Regions from separate parts of the Homo sapiens genome. Here regions 1, 2, 3, 5 and 6 are each linked to region 4. The links are contacts of gene promoters, found by promoter capture Hi-C in blood cells and fetal thymus (Javierre and others, 2016). All regions are on one chromosome and are shown on one strand. The core of a region is centred on a gene start or on the middle of the fragment in contact, and the rest is flanking DNA. Distances in the headings are between cores, read along the strand shown.

Evidence for each region. Contacts are between HindIII fragments. The CHiCAGO score rates a contact against its expected background, and 5 or more counts as called.
Region 1: a contact is called between a fragment that was not itself captured here and the fragment with the promoter of TDRD10 in region 4, in 12 of 17 cell types (activated CD4 T cells, M2 macrophages, total CD8 T cells and 9 more). The highest score is 10.0, in activated CD4 T cells.
Region 2: a fragment that was not itself captured here is called in contact with the fragment with the promoter of TDRD10 in region 4 in 1 of 17 cell types (erythroblasts); the score reaches 6.4 in erythroblasts.
Region 3: the fragment with the promoter of SHC1 here is called in contact with the fragment with the promoter of TDRD10 in region 4 in 4 of 17 cell types (activated CD4 T cells, erythroblasts, fetal thymus and 1 more); the score reaches 9.4 in activated CD4 T cells.
Region 5: a fragment that was not itself captured here is called in contact with the fragment with the promoter of TDRD10 in region 4 in 4 of 17 cell types (activated CD4 T cells, M1 macrophages, non-activated CD4 T cells and 1 more); the score reaches 7.9 in activated CD4 T cells.
Region 6: a contact is called between a fragment that was not itself captured here and the fragment with the promoter of TDRD10 in region 4, in 1 of 17 cell types (neutrophils). The highest score is 5.5, in neutrophils.

What each region holds. Positions count from the first base shown.
Region 1 is chr1:154,890,263-154,893,503 of GRCh38, forward strand. No RefSeq gene overlaps it. Among named protein-coding and RNA genes, the nearest start is that of KCNN3, 22 kb to the left of the region's middle. The HindIII fragment of the contact is 428 bases long and covers 1,374-1,801 here.
Region 2 is chr1:154,834,401-154,837,351 of GRCh38, forward strand. All of the region lies in intron 1 of KCNN3 (potassium calcium-activated channel subfamily N member 3), which reads right to left. Among named protein-coding and RNA genes, the nearest start is that of KCNN3, 34 kb to the right of the region's middle. The HindIII fragment of the contact is 3,819 bases long and covers 1-2,951 here.
Region 3 is chr1:154,969,407-154,972,576 of GRCh38, forward strand. SHC1 (SHC adaptor protein 1) reads right to left here and starts at 1,341. Exons shown (of 12, transcript NM_001130040.2): 1 at 626-1,341; 2 at 1-42. The coding sequence starts at 1,120. RefSeq lists enhancers at 118-668, 669-1,219. The HindIII fragment of the contact is 11,130 bases long and covers 1-3,170 here.
Region 4 is chr1:154,500,485-154,503,593 of GRCh38, forward strand. TDRD10 (tudor domain containing 10) reads left to right here and starts at 1,735. Exons shown (of 13, transcript NM_182499.4): 1 at 1,735-2,545. It overlaps SHE (Src homology 2 domain containing E), which reads right to left and starts at 1,928. Exons shown (of 6, transcript NM_001010846.3): 1 at 952-1,928. The coding sequence starts at 1,542. The HindIII fragment of the contact is 2,286 bases long and covers 526-2,811 here.
Region 5 is chr1:154,912,080-154,915,027 of GRCh38, forward strand. LOC105371449 (a long non-coding RNA gene) reads right to left here. Exons shown (of 2, transcript XR_001738239.2): 2 at 1-718. Among named protein-coding and RNA genes, the nearest start is that of PMVK, 23 kb to the right of the region's middle. The HindIII fragment of the contact is 510 bases long and covers 1,102-1,611 here.
Region 6 is chr1:154,771,088-154,773,972 of GRCh38, forward strand. KCNN3 (potassium calcium-activated channel subfamily N member 3) reads right to left here. Exons shown (of 8, transcript NM_002249.6): 3 at 888-1,306. Among named protein-coding and RNA genes, the nearest start is that of KCNN3, 98 kb to the right of the region's middle. The HindIII fragment of the contact is 5,576 bases long and covers 1-2,885 here.

The sequences.
Region 1 (3,241 bases), core at 338-2,837, 390 kb after region 4:
TCTCGATCTCCTGACCTTGTGATCCGCCCATCTCAACCTCCCAAAGTGCTGGGATTACAGGCGTGAGCCACCGCGCCCGGCCTATGCAACCTTCTTAATATGTGACTCCATATGTTGAAGCCGACTTGAATTGGTTTTCTATTGTGTACTGCCGAAATCATCATAATCAACCTAGACTACAAGAATGGAAGCCATACGATAAAACAGTCCGGGCGCAGTGTCTCATGACTATAATCCCAGCACTTTGGGAGGCCAAGGTAGGGGAAGATTCCCTGAGCCCAGGAGTTCAAGACCAGCCTGGACAACATGGTGAGACCCTATCTCTAAAAAAGAAAAAGTATAAAAACAAAAAATAATCATGAAAAGTTTTAAAAGAAAGTACAGTTAATAGGGTATTCATGATTCTCTTCTTATAACTCAGTTGCTAAAGAGGAAAGACTTACGCATGGAGAAGTTAGAGGAAAATTCAAAGAGGATGGATTAGTTATCTATGGCTCCACAACAAACTACACCAAAACTTAGCAGCTTACACCACAAACATTTATTTATTTATTTATTTATTTATTTAGAGACAGGTTCTCGCTCTGCCACCCAGGCCAGAGTACAGTGGTGCCACCATGGCTCACTGCAGCCTTGACCTCCAGGGCTCAAGCAATCCTCCAATCTCAGCCCCCCACCACCCCCAATAGCTGGGACTACAGGTGCGCATCACCATGCCTGGCTAATGTTTGTATTTGTTGTAGAGATGGTGTTTCACCATGTTGCCCAGGCTGGTCTTGAACTCCTAGGCTCAAGCAATTTGCCCACCTTGGCCCCCCAAAGTGCTGGGATTAACAAACATGTATTGCCTCAAAGCTTTTTTGGGTCAGGAATTAGGGTGCAGCATAGCTGGGTGATTCTGACTCATAGTCTCTCATGGAGTTGCAGTGAAAATGTCAGCTGGGTTCATTTTTTTAGTCTTTTTTCTCTCTGTTTCATGTTGGGTATTTCTATTTATATGTTTTCAAGTTTACCAGTATGTTCTTCCACAATGTCTATCTGCTGTTAAACCCATCCAATATACTTTTCTCAGAGCATCAGTGAGCTTCAAATAACCTAACATATGTGTAATTGGAATCCCAGGGAATAAAGGAAGCTGGGTGGGAGAGGGGAACAGAAAAAGTACTTGAAGAAATAATGGTCAAAATTATTCAAAATTTTATGAAGCTATAAACTCACAGAACCAAGAACCTCAATAAACCCTAAGCACAAGAAACATAAAACTGTACTAAGGCACAGAACAATCAGATGGCTCAAAGCCTATGATAAAGAGAAAAATTTTAAAAGCAACTAGGGACATTACATGAAGAGAAACAAAGATAAGCATGACAAAAAGCTTCCTGTCATAAATAATGCATACCGGAAAATAATGGAAGAATATCTCTAAATACTAAAAGAAAAAAACACTGCCAACTTTGAATTATATCTTTTGAATATATCTTAGATGTATATTATATCTTTGAAAATATATTTTGAGACTGAAGGTAAGATAAGACTTTTTCAGCCATGCAAAAGCTAAAATAATTTATCACCTGAGATACAACAAATGTTAAAGAAGATCCTTGAAGCAGAAAGAAAAGGATAACAGATATATAAATCTACACAAAGGAAGGAAAATCATCAACATTGGCAACTATGTGGATAAGAAAAGGATAAATTAAATGGAATTATTTAAAATATTCAATTAATTCAAAAGTATGCAGAAAAAGAGGGGGAGAGGAAAAAAGAATAGAGGGGACAAACAAAAAAACAAGGCCATAGAAGCTTTAAGCGACACAATCAGCCAAGTTGACCTAACTGACGCTTATAAAACCCTCCACCTAACAACAATAGAATACACGTTATTTACATGTGCACATGGAACATGTTTACCAAAATGGCCATATTCAGGGCCATAAAACAAGTCTCAAAGAATTTTTAAAGTTTCAGGCCATACAAAGTATGTTCTTTGAACATAATGGAATTAAATTAGAAACCAATAACCAAAAGAGCTTTACAAAATCCTCAAACATTTAGGAACACAATAACACACTTCCAAATAACCCATGGTTCAGAGAAGAAATCAAAGGGGAAAACAGGAAGTATTCTAAGTTGAATGAAAAATAAAACATAACATATTTGAGAGAAGCCACAAAAGCAGTACTTAGGAGGAACTTATAGCACCAAATACCTATATTAGAAAAGAAGAAACTTCTCAAGTAAATGACTTCAGCTGGTACCGTAAGAAATTAGGAAGAGAGCAATTAAATCTTAAGTAAACTAAAGAAAAGAAATAATAAAGATCATAGTGGAAATCAATGAGATATAAAACAGAAAAACAGAAGAAAAAATCTGTAAGCCAAAAGCTGCACTTTGAAAAGATCAATAACATCAATAAATCTCTAACCAGGCTTATCAGGAAAAAAGAAAGAAGTCAAAAATTAATCAATAATCAGGAATGAGAGAGGTAATATCCCTACCAATTCTTAAATATTAAAAGGATTATAAGAAAATATTATAAACAACTCTATGCCAATAAATTTGACAACTTATATGAAATGAACAAATTCCTTGAAAGACACAAACTACCAAGGTTCACACAAGAGGAAATAAATAACATGACTAGTCCTATATATGTTAAAAAAATTAAATTTGTAGCTCAAAAATTTCTCATAAAGAAAGCCCCAGCCTCAAATTGTTTCACTGGTCAATTCTACCAAGCATTTAATGAAGAAATAATAATAGTTTTATACAAACCCTTCCAGAAAATTGAAGAGGAGAAAATGTTCCCAAATCATTATATGAGGCCAGCATCACCCTCAACCTGATAAAAAGCGTCTACTTAAAAAATCTACAACTAACAGCATACTTGATGGTGAACAGCATACTAAGTGATTTCCCCCTAAGACTGGGAACAAGGCATGTCCTCTCTCACCACCTAGTCAACATTATACTGGAGGTTCTAGCTAGTGCAATAGGATAAGAAAAAGAAATAAAAAGCAAACAAATTGAAAAAGAAGAAACAAAATGTTTTTATTCAGAGATGACGTGATCATCTACATAGAAAATTTGATGGAATCTCCAAAAAAGCTACTAGCACTGATATATGAGCACAGCATGGTTACAGGATACAAGATTAATGTACAAAAATCCACTGTATTTCTATTACTTAGCAATAAACAATCCAAAACTGAAATAAACAATGCTATGTGTTATACAATAG
Region 2 (2,951 bases), core at 158-2,657, 330 kb after region 4:
GAGTCTCCCAAGTAGACTATCCATGGTCTAGGGGGGGTCAGGGAACCTCCCAATTCCTCCATGTGGTTATTTCCTCCATTTCTTTCTCCAAGAACATGAGGCAGCCCCATCTCAAGGCGGGAGCTCATTCCACACTAATTGATTCAAGTTAGAGCCATTTCAAGGCAGAAGGATCTCCATGGTTCCCCTACAGGTGTTGCCTCTAGGAACTCTCCACAGATTCAAACTCTACAAGGACTTACTGAGTACCTGTTATATGACAGGCTCTGAGTCTACCCATCCATCTTCATATAAACTCTCACTTAATCCTCACAGGAAGGAACTGTCCCCACTTGACAAATGAGAAACTGAGGCACGGAATGATTATACAATTTGCCAAGATCACACAGCTGAACTGTGGGAGCCAGACTTGAAACACACAGCTTCTGATTCCAAGCCCAGGATTGGTAAGGACCGCAGCACAGTCCCGGCTGAGACCTACACCCTGAGCTCTTCACGGAGGAGGTCGCTTGTTCCTGCTCCACTGAAGCCAGATTTGCTACTTCTTTCCCCCTGAGCTGCACTTGTTTCCACATCCCCAGAACTCCCGGTCCTGACCAGCTGTCCTCTACCTGCATGGGGTCAGCCACCGAGGAAGCCAGGCCAAAGACTAGAGCTGGACCGTTTGACACCATCACCATCTTTAACATCTATTCAATGAGACTAAAAAATCCTTTCTTCCTTCCAGGGTTGTTGTGAGGAAGAGCAGATAATGAACGTGAAAATACTCTCCCAGTCGAGGGTTCCCACGGGCTTAAAACAGCCTATGCAGAGGGTGGCGATACATTCGGGTTTACCCAGGAGAGTCCAGTGTATGCCTGTTATCTGGCATAATTATTACTATGAATGGTAATCATTAATATAATAATCTCAAAAGTGTCCCAGTTTAGACAATGAATCATATGATCACCCTATATATGTAGTATTTGCTGCCAAAGGGTCTGAGAGAATTGGGGCCCCCTTCCCGCCCTCTGCCCCCACACCTGCCAGCTTCCACACCCACTATGTGCACTCCATTAGCAGACACTTTGCCAGGCTCATGGGCAGACATCATTCTGCTGGATCAAAGCAATTGTTAGTAGACAGTATTTTTAGCAAGGTGGTGTCACAGTGCCTGGATTAATTGCAATTAATTATATGTCACTCCTTTAAGGTTTATTTCATCAATTATGGACAATCACGGCCATGTGCCTTGCTTGCTTTAACCCTTGGTGACTTGAATTTCTTGGCACAGAGGAGGCTGTAACCATGGAAAAGGCTGAATATCAGAATATATTTGCTACTGAGTCACTGTGTCCTGGATGTCAGTTTAGGGCTTTCCTGTTTACAAAGCATTTTCTTGCACAGTTTCCTATTTGATGCTGGGAGGTAGAGAGGACCACTCCTAACCCACAGATGGAAAAACTAAGGCTGGGAGGATTTAAGCAATTACCCAAAGCCATACAGTTAGGAAACCCCACTCTTCTAACACAGGGTTGCCAAAACATTTCCAAGTCTTCTGTATAGACTGATGAGTGTGACCCTCTGGCATCAGTGGTCAGATAGCCCCATGGCCAGGCATGGGGACAGGATCTGAGGGCGTCTGGAGGCAGACTTGCCAGGGAGGAGCCAAAGGCACCTGACGCATGTCTGCCAGGCAGAGCAGCCCTTACCTTGAGCATTTCAAGTGGCCCTAATGTCAAGAAACTCCAAGAAGAATGTGTCCGTGCCAGAAAAATATGCAAACAAGGACACCCAGCACCTTCCTTCTTTGAGTGTTGAGCAGCCGGAAGAGCAGCCAGAAGGTACCTCGTACAAGTGAGGAGATGGTAGGACTCCCACAGTACCCCTGGGTCCCTCTTGCTGTTGTAATAGGAGGAGCCAGAGGAACACCCCACCTGATACTCGACTGGCCTTAATTTGGGCTCCTGCCCCCCGTCTATTTTGCCCTGCACCGGTTACAGAATATTAGTTCTAAACAGATCTCTGAGCTCCCCTAGTCCAAAGCCTCGTTTTACAGATGGAGAGACTGAGACCCCAAGCAGGGAATGCCCCATCTCCGACCCCACTTGCCAGGGCAGAGCTGAGCAGGGACGTGGGCCTCCCCTCCTGTGGGTTCTTGCTGACTGTGGCTGGGAGTCTCAGCTGGGAACTGGGGTGCTGTCTGGAGCGTTTCTCTCACGGGAAAGTTTGCTGCGTCTTTTCTTCCATCCCTCTTTCTTACCTCCACCCTTGTCTCACTCTCCTCACCCACATTTCATCCCTCTCGCACTATTCCTGTTTTCCGGGACCAGGCTTTAAGATTGTCAGCTAAAGGGGCTAGGTCTGAAGGAAACTCGGCTGGAGCCCGAGAGCCGCCGCCCCTGGGCTCCCTCTGAGTGGCCCCTCCAGGCTCAGGGCTGCTTCATGGCACAGTCGGGGTCCTTTCTGTCTCTCTGCTCCATCACCTCACAGAGGACTTGGCACACAGTAGGCACTCAATAAATACTTGATGAATGAATGAAGGGATGCTACCCTATGGCCTGTTCCCAAGAAGAGGAGAATCGTGCAAAATCACTTCCCTGCAGGCCCCATCATCTAGGTGGGGAACAACACTTCCAATTGTGGGGAGAACTCCATCAACTTTTGTTTCCTCGTTCCACTGACTAAACAGATACTTATTTGCTTAGAACCCATTGTTTAAGCCTTTTTTTTTTTTTGAGACAGAGTCTTGCTCTGTTGCTGGGCTGGAGTGCAGTGGCACAATCTCAGCTCACTGCAATCTCTGCCTCCCAGATTCAAGCAATTCCCCTGCCTCAGCCTCCTGAATAGCTGGGATTACAGGCGCACGCCACCACCATGCCCGGCTAGTTTTTTGTTTGTTTGTTTGTTTTTCATTTTTTGTGTTTTTCTTTTTTTTGCATTTTAGTAGAAACAGAGTTTGACCATGTTGG
Region 3 (3,170 bases), core at 91-2,590, 470 kb after region 4:
CAGGGCACGCATTGACTGGAGGACCTCCACACAACCCATGTACTAAGGGGAGGGAGAAGAGGACAGCAGGTCAGCGGCTCCCCCACCCCAGCCCCTTCACAAAGGGCCCTAGGACTTTACCCATATGGTCCCTAAGGGAAGTAAAGAGGAAGAAGTTCTGCCCACTTCCCGTGGCTACATCCCACAACCAAGGTGAAAGACAACAGGGAATGAGGAGAAAAAGAAAAGGCAGGCTAGAAGGACCTCACACACTGGGGAGAGAGTTTGGAGGGGACCGACAGGCATTGGCTGGGATGGAGTGACAACTCCAGAAAGCGGGAGGAGAATGGAGGAAAGATCAAGAAGTCATTCATTCCAACACTTATTAAGAGCTTCTGCCATGCTGGGCATTGTGCTAAGCATGCCAGGGTGGGGGTGGGGGAGTGAAAAGAAGGAAGGGGGCCCAGGCAAAGCTGGAAGGGAAGGGGCTACAGAATCGGGGAAGGGATGAGAAAGGTTTAGGAAATAGGACACTGAAACGGGGTTGTTGGGGAACAGCAGGAAAAAAGAGATTCCGGCCAAGCTGGAGTGAGCATTAGAACTGGAGGGGGTCTGCGGGGGAATGGAGAGGAGGATGTTCACTCACCCGAACCAAGTAGGAAACCCCGGGTCCCATGACTTTGTCGTTGGGATGCAGCCAGCCCCGCGTGGGCTTATTGACAAAGCTCCCGTGGCGGGTCCACTCCTCGCCCCCAAGCTGGCCCCCTTCCACCCGAGTCCTGCGCCCGCCGCCTCCACTCAGCTTGTTCATGTCCTGGAGGAGGGGTAGGGGGCCTGAGTCTGGCATGGCTGCCCCTACGATCCCCTCCCCATCATCAGCTGCCCTTCCTGGCTCCCCCTTAGACCCTGGGCGCCCCCCAGCCGGGTTGGCCAGCCTCAGGTTGCTCATCCGGGGGAAGAAGGAGCACAGGGTAGTGGGACTATCGTCCCCAGGCAGAGGAGGCAGGATGGGCCCCAGGGATGAAGCTGATGGGGAAGGCAGCTCCTCCGGGGGGGTGGACCCAGAAGCCCCTTCCTCCAGCGATGACAGAGACTCATTCCGGAGTGGATTGTACTTGGGCTTGGGGGGCAGGAGATCCATAGTTGAGGTGAAAGAGGGGCTGCTGCCCAGCCTGGCCCCCCTGCCAGTTTGGGCAAGGGGGCCAGGCAGGGGGTATCCCCAGGCCCTTAGCCTGGTTGGACCTCTGTGGCCCAGGAGTCACAGAAGTCCTGGGGAGGGAGAGGGACAAGTGGCTTCCGCTCCCCAGCTCAGACCCAGACAGTTTCAGGCCCCATCCCCGCCCAACGTGGAGCCTCTTCTCTGGCTGAGAAGAGAACAGGCTGGACCCAGCGCTTCTGGCTCCTCCCCAGGGGCGGGGAGCTAAGGGGAGAGACCAATCGTGAGGACAGTGCTGACTCACAGGCTCAGAGGGGCTGAGCCCCCACCCCGCCCCAACCTCGAACTGGAGCAGGGGGTAGGGCTATCCAAGCCCCTCTCCCCTGCCCTATACAAACAACTAGTAATCTGGGGAGAAGTAAAGTGGGGGTGGGAGGGAAGGATGGAAGAGTGGGACGGAAAGGAAGGAGATAGGAGGTCTGGGTCACTCAAAACCGGACACACGCAGGCCAAAGGGGGCAGGAAGCCAGGCAGGAGTACAGGGGAATGAGGGAGGAAACAGAGGCAGCTGGGGGTGGAAAAGGGAGGAGATCTCAGAGCTCAGCATTTCCCTTCCTGTCCTGGTTGGACACTCGAATTCCCCCACCCTCTCTATGCCCGAAAGCTGGCTGGCCCCAGCCCAGGCCACCCCCAACCGCTACCCCATACAGTAAGCCTGGGCCATTAGCATCCTCTGCTACAGCAGCTGTGGACTGGAGCTAGCGAAGTGGGGATGGGAAGTAAGTGGTCCCAATGGATGCAGAGCAGGGCCAAGAGGAAGAGCAAAGCTGGTGAAAAAAGGGGAATAAAGTTCAACCTGGATGATACATCAGGAAGCTACCAGGCAAGAAGGGAACAAGAGGACATGCTGGTCACGGCTTGTTCTCTACGTATGCCATCTACCACACCAAGACCGATGGCTCATAGCCAAGCACTGTCCTGTCTCCCCTTTCCACAGGGCTTGTTAACACAGCACACTGTCAAGGGTGAGAATGAGGCAATCAGGTCCCCACTCCCACTCCAAACCACCCCAATTCACATCCCTCCTCTTACAGGGCCCTAAGCCCCACCAAAGAGCACAGCATCCTTCACACCAGGGAAGGAGCCTGGCTGGAGGAGGTGGAAGAAACAGTTCTCCAAGAGAAGTAGAAACTACAGGCCAGGAAGGGACAGAGAGATCAGAAGACACATCTGCGTCAATAAGGACAGGAGAAAAATAAGTACAGGAGAAAGGGGTGTCAGGAGAAGATGGGTTGAAGCTGGACACAGGGAACAGTCCCAAACCCATTCCTGCCACCCACGGCTTCCTGCCACTGCTCTTCCGGAGAATGCCACAGGCAAAGCTGGAAAGTGACCAAAAAAAAAAAAACAAAGATACGTATTCCTACCGGGCGCGGTGGCTCACACCTGTGATACCAGCACTTTGGGAGGCTGAGGCGGGTGGATCACCTGAAGTCAGGAGTTCGAGACCAGCCTGGTCAACATGGTGAAACCCTGTCTCTACTAAAAATACAAAAATTAGCTGGGCGTGGTGGCGGGCACCTGTAATCCCAGCTCAGGAGGCTGAGGCAGGAGAATCGCTCGAACCCAGGAGGCGGAGGTTGCAGTGAGCCGAGATCGAGCCATTGCACTCCAGCCTAGGTGACAAGAGCAAAACTCCGTCTCAAAAAAAAAAAAATACGTATTCCCCCCAGCTCACCTTGGAATTACCCTTAGATTTACTTCAGAGAATTAAAATATAGATAGATAATTATCCTGATTAACAACATTAACACTTGAAGTGTGTTAGATGCTGTGCTTAACTCTTACATCTCCCCTTAGTGCTCATTCCAGAAGAGCTTTGTCACTCTGCCAGCCAATCCTGAGAAGGAATTTTATCACTTCATTTCCAGCCAGCTCTCGGGCATAGAGAGAATGAGGAAAGGATTCCACCATAGCCTCACACCCCCAAAACACACAAACACACACTAGGATGTCCCTCATCTGTAGAGATGAT
Region 4 (3,109 bases), core at 485-2,984:
TCAACCAGGGAGGTAGCATGTTTGAAGCCTGGGCAAGAGAAAATTAAAGCTCCCATGCATGTTAGGAAGTGATTGCCTGGACCGGAGTCTGAAATCTCGATTTGAGCTCTTCTCTCTCCCCCTTTCACATCGGAGAGAAGATAAAAACAACCAGATCGGACCAACTCATCTCAGCAAGAATGGAGGGAGTCCCTTCCTATGTTCACACTCCTTTTCTTAACTTTTCCACATTGGACAGCACCCAGAAAACCTCCAGTGTGTCCGTCGCAGGAAACACCCTCTCTTCTCATCTGTAATTTCCTTGAGAGCATTTCCTTGTCATATTCTGTATCCTCCACAGCCCTTAATGCCCTGTGCTCCTTTCCTCATATGGCTGCTGCGCAACAAATGCCCATGGAATGAATGAAAGGGCAGCAGTCTTGGAGATTTGCTGAACCTCCGAGGAGCCCTTTACTCGGTGGAACCGCAGAAAATGATGGAACTTCCAAATCAGTGGAGAAGACTGTTGGTTAAACCATTTCCTGAAGCTTTGAAATGCATATCTACACACTTGAGAGGTTACCATTCCTTATGCTCAAGAAGCATAAAAGTCATACACAAGCCTAGCTTTGCAATTCCCCTGAATATCAAAATTAAAATGAACCACATCTATAAAGGGGTCAAATGTAACCAAACAGGAATATCTCATTCAACGACTCTTCTAAACTGCTAACAAAATTCAATGGCTAGTACATTTCTGCAAAACTCCCCACCTCTAAAATAAGAGTTTTTCAAGAATTAAAAAACAGTCTAAGAATTTTAAATGGTCAGGAATTCCCAAATGGTGGAGGGAGAAAGGACCTTAGGAAACCTATCCTCACTGCCTCTTAGGTCTAAAGAAGCCTAGGGCTTAGCAGGCGCCCAGGGCTCCCCTTCGACTGAGAGGTGGTCCAAGGGAGGCTGTATTCTTACCGTCTCTTGCTGCTTAATAATCTTGCCCTTGTCCAGCTCGGGCCCCAGGGAGGAAGGGGAAGAGGACGCGGAGGAAGAGGAGCTGGAGCTGGAGCTACTGCTGCTGGGGTAGTTGCTCTTCCCGTTCTTCTCCTGAGTGTCCACCTTGATGAGCCTGTTGATGTAGGTGCTGCAGCCCGAGCTCTTGGTTGCACCCCGGTGGGGCTCCTCCTCCGTGGCCCGGGAGTTTTTGCGGCCCTTGCCCGCGGCGGCCTGAATCAGACCCTGCAGGCTGTCGCGGGACAGCCGGCTGTCCTTGGGGCCGACGCCGGCCCTGCCGCTCCCCAGCTCGGCCGCCGAGTTCTTGCGGCCCTTGCCAGGACCCGGCCCAGCGCCGCCCGCCTCCGAGTTCTTGCGCAATTTGCCGCCGCCGCCCCCGGGCTTGGCCCGCTCCGACACGGTCTTCAGGTTCAGGGGGAACTCCTTGAACCACTTGGCCGCCATGAGGGGGCCCCGGCCGGCTCGGCCCAGGAGCGTCGGGGCCGTGGAGCAGGCGAGCGAGGAAGCCCAGCCCAGACACGCAGAGGCGCCAGGGGTCGGGGACCACTGCATTCCCCGTGACTGGGGCGCTGGAGGCCGCGGCGAGGCCCCGCGACGGCTGCTCCGTGCGCCCCCGGCCGGCCGTCGCCCACGCCCGGCAGGGTGGGGTTCTCACGGCTCGGGGCGCCGAGCGGGCGGGCGCTAGCCTCTGCTCCGGACACGGCAGGCGACAGGCACGACGCGCGGGGGGCCCCGCCCGGGCTCGTCTTCAACGCCTGCCCGGCCCGAGGACACCGTGGCTCTCGGAGGCGGCGGGCGCCGGGGGCTTCCCCCTGCTCTTTCCTCCTGCGGTGGGAGAGGCCAGGCCCACGGAAGCCCCCTGCGGCCCAGCCCACGCTCCCAGGGACCAGAGAGGACCGAGCGGAGGCGGCGGGAGTATCCCCGGCGCAGCGACAGACGGTGGACGGACGGCGAGCGGCCCATCAACTCCGCGCGCCCCTCCCCTCCGCGGCTGGCGCCTCCCAGCCCCGCCACCTCCTGCCCAGAGCTGGGGGCGGCGGGGTGAGCGCCATGGCAGAGGCGGGTCGGGCTGCGAGCTCTGGAGAAAGGGGCGGCGGCCGCACGTGCGGATCGGCCGCGCCCCACTGAGCAGAGAGCCCCCTTCTGCCGCCGACAGCCCGCGTCTGCACCGAGCCGGTCTCGGCCGGGCGCTGCCTTCACACGCGCCCAGGAGTGTCACGTGCGCCGCTCACCCCCGGGAAGGAAGCCCCTCGCCCACCCACTCCGCTCTACTCCACTCTTTCTGCAGACGTTATTTTTGGCGGTAGGGCAGAGGTTGCGGCCCGAGGTCCGGGCGCAGGGACAACGGTCGCCAGCTCCTGCGCTAGTTCCGTTACTCTTCGGTGGCACACGGTCCTGGGCAGCGCGAGGCTCTTCCCGCCGTGGCCGCCGGGGATTGGCTGCCGGCAAGCCCCGCCCCGTGCCCCCGGGCTCAGAGGGGGCGGAGCGCGGAGGGAGAAGGCGCGAAGGCTGGGCGTCGCGATCGCAGGTGCACGCGCGTGGCCCGCGAGACGAGGTATGGCTTGTCGGCCCCAGGTCCCGGGATGCCAGGCGAGGGTTGGGAGGGAGGGGCGTCGGCAGGCAGCCATGGGAAACGCCCTCGTCCCGACTGATGGGGGAAAGGGGTCGCTGTTCCCGCGGGGCCGTCGCTCGCTCGCGCCGGTTGGGAGCGGCCCTCCTAGTCTGGATTTGTGCGGGCGGGGAGTGCCGTGTGCAGAACTGTGGCCACTTTAAGGGAAAAGACGCCTCTGCCATTCCTCCCTCCCTTCGAAGCCCTTTAAAAGCTTTCTGAGGCCGGGCGCGGTGGCTCACGACTGTAATCCCAGCACTTTGGGAGGCCGAGGCGGGCAGATCACCTGAGATCAAGAGTTCGAGACCAGCCTGGCCAACATGGTGAAACCTGGTCTCTACTAAAAATACAAAAATTAGCCGGGCGTGGTGGTGCGCGCCTATGGTTGCAGCTACTCAGGAGGCTGAGGCAGGAGAATCGCTTGAACCCGGGAGGCGCAGGTTGCAGTGAGCTGAGATCAAGTCACTGCACTCCAGCCTGGGCGACAGAGCGAGACTCCGTCTCAAAAAG
Region 5 (2,948 bases), core at 107-2,606, 410 kb after region 4:
GGCCTCCCCCACCTCAGGAATCTCAGCCTCAGCACCCTAGGAACAGCAAGTCCAAGTCTGTTCCCATCTCTCCCACCCCATCATCCTCTAGCACACAGCATTATTCCCTTCTGGGAAGTGACTCTGTGGCTTCCTCATCCTGGTACAGCTTGATTCACCTAAGCAGGACATGCCAGGTGGAATAGGCAGGTGGCCTGGCCTCTTCAGAGTAGGCTGGACAAACCCAGGAAGCAGGGAACTGGGCTGAACTCCCATGGGCTCAGGCTGAGCCGTCTCTGCCCTCCTCCGATAAAGGGCACAGGTTCATGCTCTCTGAGACATTTAGGGTGAGGGAAGGGCACGGAGTGGGGAGTCAGAAGCCTTGGGGCCAACTTTTGGCATTGCCAGTCATTGCCGCTTGACCTTGAGCAAACCACTTCCCCTCTCTGAGCCTCAGTTTCCTCGTCTGTAAGCAAGAGGTTTCGAGCTAGATCACTGAGGTCCATTACAATACTCACTTTGTGTGACATCACATATCTAGGTGGTGATCTCTCAGAAAGTCTCACACAGTCCCTAACATAGGCCTTCAACAAGCCCAGAAACTGGCAAGTGTTAAAGACAAAATAACATAGCAGGAAGCAGGCATCAGTTTCACCTCTCGTCTCCTGGGGGAGCTGTCACTGCCATGAGCTTGGGCTCCCAAAGAACTTGCCTTTGGCTGGATGTTCCTGGGACTCACCTGGAAGAAAATAATTAAAATCCTAAACTGTAAAGGGGGACCCATCACTTCACTTGGCTGTCAGACAACATGACACTGTCCAGATCCTGAATTAGGCCATGAGAGTGAGAGCTGATCCCCGTCTAATGAAAGTTGTTAAACTCCCTGTCACCTGTTTATCAGGTAGCAAGTGAACAAGACAAATGCCAGCATTCATCACAGCTCAGCTGCCAGCAGGAATGTCCTGGGCATGAGAGCTGGTGGCAAGCACAGGGTGCTTGGGTCCTTCCCTCAACATCAGAGAAAAGAAAACTGGGCAAAGAAGACATCTCTCTAGTCCCTTGCAGTGTCGGGCTCCAGGCAGGGAGCTACAGTGAGAAACTGAACCCAGGAATAGACAGGAAAGCTTTGCCACCTTGGACAAGTCCCTTTGTCTCTGGGCCTTATTTTACTACCTGTAAAATGAAGATAAAAATAGTATCAGATTGATGCAAGGGATAAAATATAGTCATAGACATGTGCTGTACAAGGAGCACGCAAATGAACTGGGTGATGATGGAAAAACAAAAGAGGTGTAGAATGTGTACAATGGTGCATTGGAACCAGCTTCAGCCACCTTCTACTGGCTTGCAAGAGCCAACATTTTGCATGTTCAGGGATTTTGCTAGCCAGCTGACATCCCACTGGTAGATTGAAATCAGCCACAGTGGGAATATTTACACTACAGAAATGGTCAAACACTACAAATCAGGGCTGTTTTTCCCCTTCCAGGGAGCTGATTGTTAAACATTTGCCAGCATGTGACTGTCTATAATGAGTAAGAGTAATGCAACGGGAGGCAATTTGTTCTTGCTTCAAACACATTCGCCATAACTTAATACATCCAAATGACTGCTAACTGCTTCATGACAATAAGCTTAGGAGGTCATATTGTTTTCTAACACATAAACTTTCTTCATTGTCACAAACATGTATTGAGACCTACTGATATGGTTTGGATGTTTATCCCCTCCAAATCTCATGTTGAAATGTGATCCCCAATGTTGGAGGTACAGCCTGATGGGAGGTGTTTGGGTCATGGGGCCAGAACCCTCATGAATGGCTTGGTGCCATCCCAGTGGTAATGAGTGAGTTCTCTCTCTGTTACTTCACAGGACAGCTGGTTGTTTCAAGGAGCCTGGCACCTCCTGCTGTCTCTCTTGTTCCCTCTCTCACCATGTGACACGCCTGCTCCCCCTTTGCCTTCAGCCATGAGCGGAGGCTTCCTGAGCCCTCACCAGAAGCAGAACAGATGCTGGTGCCATGCTTGTATAGCCTGTAGAACTCTTTACTTCATAAATTACTCAGTCTCAGGTACTCCTTTATAGCAATGCAAAACCGACTAATATACCTCTACTATGTGCAATGTACCAAAGACTCGAAAGGAAAAAAACCTTTCCTTACTTGCTCACAGCATGGTGGAGGAGTGAGAAAGTGTACACTGTGGAGCATTCTGGAAATGGAAGTGGAGTGCCCCTTGCTCTGCTCAAGTTGTAGGGGTCCAAGCCCAAGCAACTAGGAAGGGTACTTTAGGCAGCATGAATGGCACATGCGAAGATACAGAGGCTTGATTACTAAGGCAACTTTTAAAAATTCCTCTCTGAGAATTAACTTTGGTAAGTTTTAGAATTATTACATTACAGGACTATTTTTCCTGGCCATAAGATGTCTCTTTCACCAGAGTTTAGTACCAAATTCCCTTTGGTCGTTTCCAAAACCCAAATGCACTTTTGGGGATGAGAATTTGGCAGAGTTGAGGGCAGGTCCTCAAAGCAAAGAGGAGCTCCCAAAGCCATTTGATAAAGGCAACAGCCCTGAAGTGTCTCAGCCCAAATGCCCAAGGTGACTACTTTAGGTTACAGCAGACAGTTGGATGCACAAGACCATTTCAGTTCCCATCTCATTATTCAATAATGCTTTACCAGGAACAATAAGATGCCAACTTTTTCCTGTTAAGACACGTCCATATCTCTGCCTTGGAGAATGCCAGGATTTGAATTTCGAAAATGAAGACAAAAAGAAGAAAGAAAATATCCAAAAGCATCCAGGCAAAAAAAGAAGGTTACCTTCAAAGGAACAAAAGTCAAGGTGACCTCATACTCTCCAGACAGTGGAACCAGGTCATGAAACTTATGCCAACCAAGTCATTGTCCAAATATAGAGGCAAGAGAATGTCATTCTCTCATACATATAGGTTCAGAAAATAGATCAT
Region 6 (2,885 bases), core at 15-2,514, 270 kb after region 4:
TAAATAAATAAATAAATAAATAAAATGAAAATCCAGGACCCCTTGCAAGGAGAAGAGTCATTAAAGGCAGCTCGAGGGTGGTGGAAGGAGGTGGCTTCAGTCCTGCCCTTGAGCCTTGTTGATGGCTGTTCCAAGGAGTTGGCATTTTGTTCTACAGCCCTGGATCTCTGTCAGGCCACATCTCCCTTCTTTCCCATGAGTAGCTTCTCTGAATGACTCCCAACCACCAGCCTCCTAAAACAATGTTTCCCAAAGTATGTTCCATCAGTACAGTGCTTCTCAAACTAAGGTGCATATGAATCACCAGGTGACCTTGTTAAATGCAAATTCTGATTCATTCATTCTGGGCTAAGGCCTGAGATTCTGGGAACTCTAACAAGTTCCCAGTGATGCCAGTGCTGCTGGTCTGTGAACCAAACTTTGAGTAGCAAGGTACCAATAGTGCTTTATAATAAAAAGGATTTGCAGGCAAATACAATTAAGAAAGGCTGAACCAAACAAAAATAAATGGTTTCATTACTTCAGGACTTCTCAGAGCCTTTAAAATGCTAATAAGCATTATTAATACCCAAGAGGAGTAAGTTGCAATGTGTTATATGTGAGTTACTGATGTAACCAGAATGCTTTGATATATTGGTTTGCAAAGAAGGAACAGAAAATCAGGAAAATTCTGTGCCTTTTTCCCACCTTACTTTGGTTCCAATGCTGCAATTCTAGCTCATACTGAACCCCAACTCAGCACTCCCCTCTTTCCCATTGTCTCCTTTCAGGTGTCTGGGTACATGCCTGTCTCCTCCATCAGACCACATACTTCCTGGCACCCCTACTCCTCCTCCCTTCCCTGTCCCAGCACAGGCTCTGTACTCAGAAAGCCCCATGTGGAATACCTTTCACAGACACGGACGGTCCAGGCAGCAATGATCCACAGAGAGATGCTGAACACGAGCAGCACAGTGCCAGGGCAGATGGTCATGAGCGTCTTCATGACAAAGCGGGTGTTGAAGTTGATCTTGTTGAGGGCCCCGATGCTGCGGGACGAGGCATCGGTGAAGAGCTTGCTGTGCAGCAGCATGACTCGGGCGATCAGGTACAGGCGCAGGAACATGGGGATAGACAGGATGATGTCCACATCGGCCTCCGCCCGGGAGGGTGTGTAGGAGAAGGCCAGGCGTGCCGTCCAGAAGAACTTGTACTCGCCAGGAATGGGGTGGATGGCGCACACCAGCATCTCCAGGCTGATGTACAGGATGCGCTCGTAGGTCATGGCTATCCGCCAGTCATCCGCGCCATTGTCGATCACGAAGAGCTGGTGGGAGCAGAAAGTCCATTAGTGTGGCCAGGACCAGGAAGCCCACAGCAGGGTCCAGGCAGGACAGGTGGGGCAGGCTGGGGCAGGCTGCTGGGCTCAGGTCAGCCTGACCACCTCAGCATGCTCTTTAGGGGCCTTGCTATGTGGCAAGAGCCCTGTATGTGGAGTAGGGAGAGCTGGATTCAGTCTACCTGGGAAGCCCTGGCTAAGACACTTTGACTCTCTTGGCCTCACTTTCCTCCTCTGCAAATCGCTGCCTGAGATATAGTGATTTATAATAAGAAATAATGTACTTGGTCTTTATCCTGGTTTAGGCACAGTTCCCAAAACGCTCGGAATTTCCAAAGTGATAAGTGTCATTTGTATGCTAATGAGATGACTAGTGGCTGGGGTCGGTCGGGGTGGGGATCCAGGGTGGCCTCAGGATGGCGCTGGTTGCCAGGGGAACCAATCTGGTGATGAGAGGGTTGGAACTTTCAGCCCCACCCCACCACCTCCTGAGAAGGAAGAGGGGCCCGAAGGTTGAGTTGATCACCAATGGCCAATGATGTCATCAATTATGTCGGTGTAATGAAACCTCCACAAAATCCCAAAAAGACAGTGTTTTGTTTTGTTTTTTTAACTTTTATTTTAGGTTCAGGGGTACATGTGCAAGTTTGCTATATAGGTAAACTCGTGTTACAGAGATTTGTTGTGCAGATGATTTCGTCACCCAGGTACTATTGGGTACAGTACCCAATAGTTATTTTTTCTGATCCTCTCCCTCCCACTCTCCACCCTCAGTGTCTGTCGTTCCCCTCTTTGTGTTTCGATGAGCTTCCAGATAGCTGCACACATGGAGGTCCCTGGACACGTGGAGTGTTGCGTGCCCAGAGAGGGCATGGAAGCTCCACCCCTTCCCATGCGCCCTGCCCTTTGCTTCGCTCCCATATGGCTGCTCATCTGAATCCTTTGTAAGGTCCTTTATAATAAACCAGTAAATGTGTTTCCCTGAGTTCTGTGAGCTGCTCTAGAAAATTAATGAAAACCTGAGAAGGGCGTCCTGGGAATCCCTGATTTATAGCCACTTGGTCAGAGGCTCAGATAAAACAACCTGGGGCTGGTGACTAGCATCGGAAGTCAGGTAAATGTGGTGGGACTGAGCCCTCAACCTGTGGGAGCCAACACTAACTCCAGGCGGACAATCAGGCTTGAGTTATATTGCAGGACACTCAGCCAGTGTCCATTGGAGAATTGCTTGGTGTGTGGGAACCACCCCCTCCTTTTTGCTGACCACAAGTGTTCTATGTTGAGCCACTTCCCAAGGTCCCTTCCAGCACACAGGTGCCAAATTGGCTGTTTCACGATGGTGAGAAAGATCAACTCATTTATATTAGAAACACATCCCTGAGCCCCTGCCAGACCTGAGCTGAGCCCTGTAAGGGGATGTAAAGATGAAAAAGTCATGTTTCCTGCATGAGTGAACTCACAAGGGCTGGCACAGATTCCTTCTCCCCACTCAGAGAAGGGGGCAGCAAGTGTTTGCTGGCAGCACTGTGCTCTCAGACAGTGCAGTGAAGTGTTCACGGCACGGACT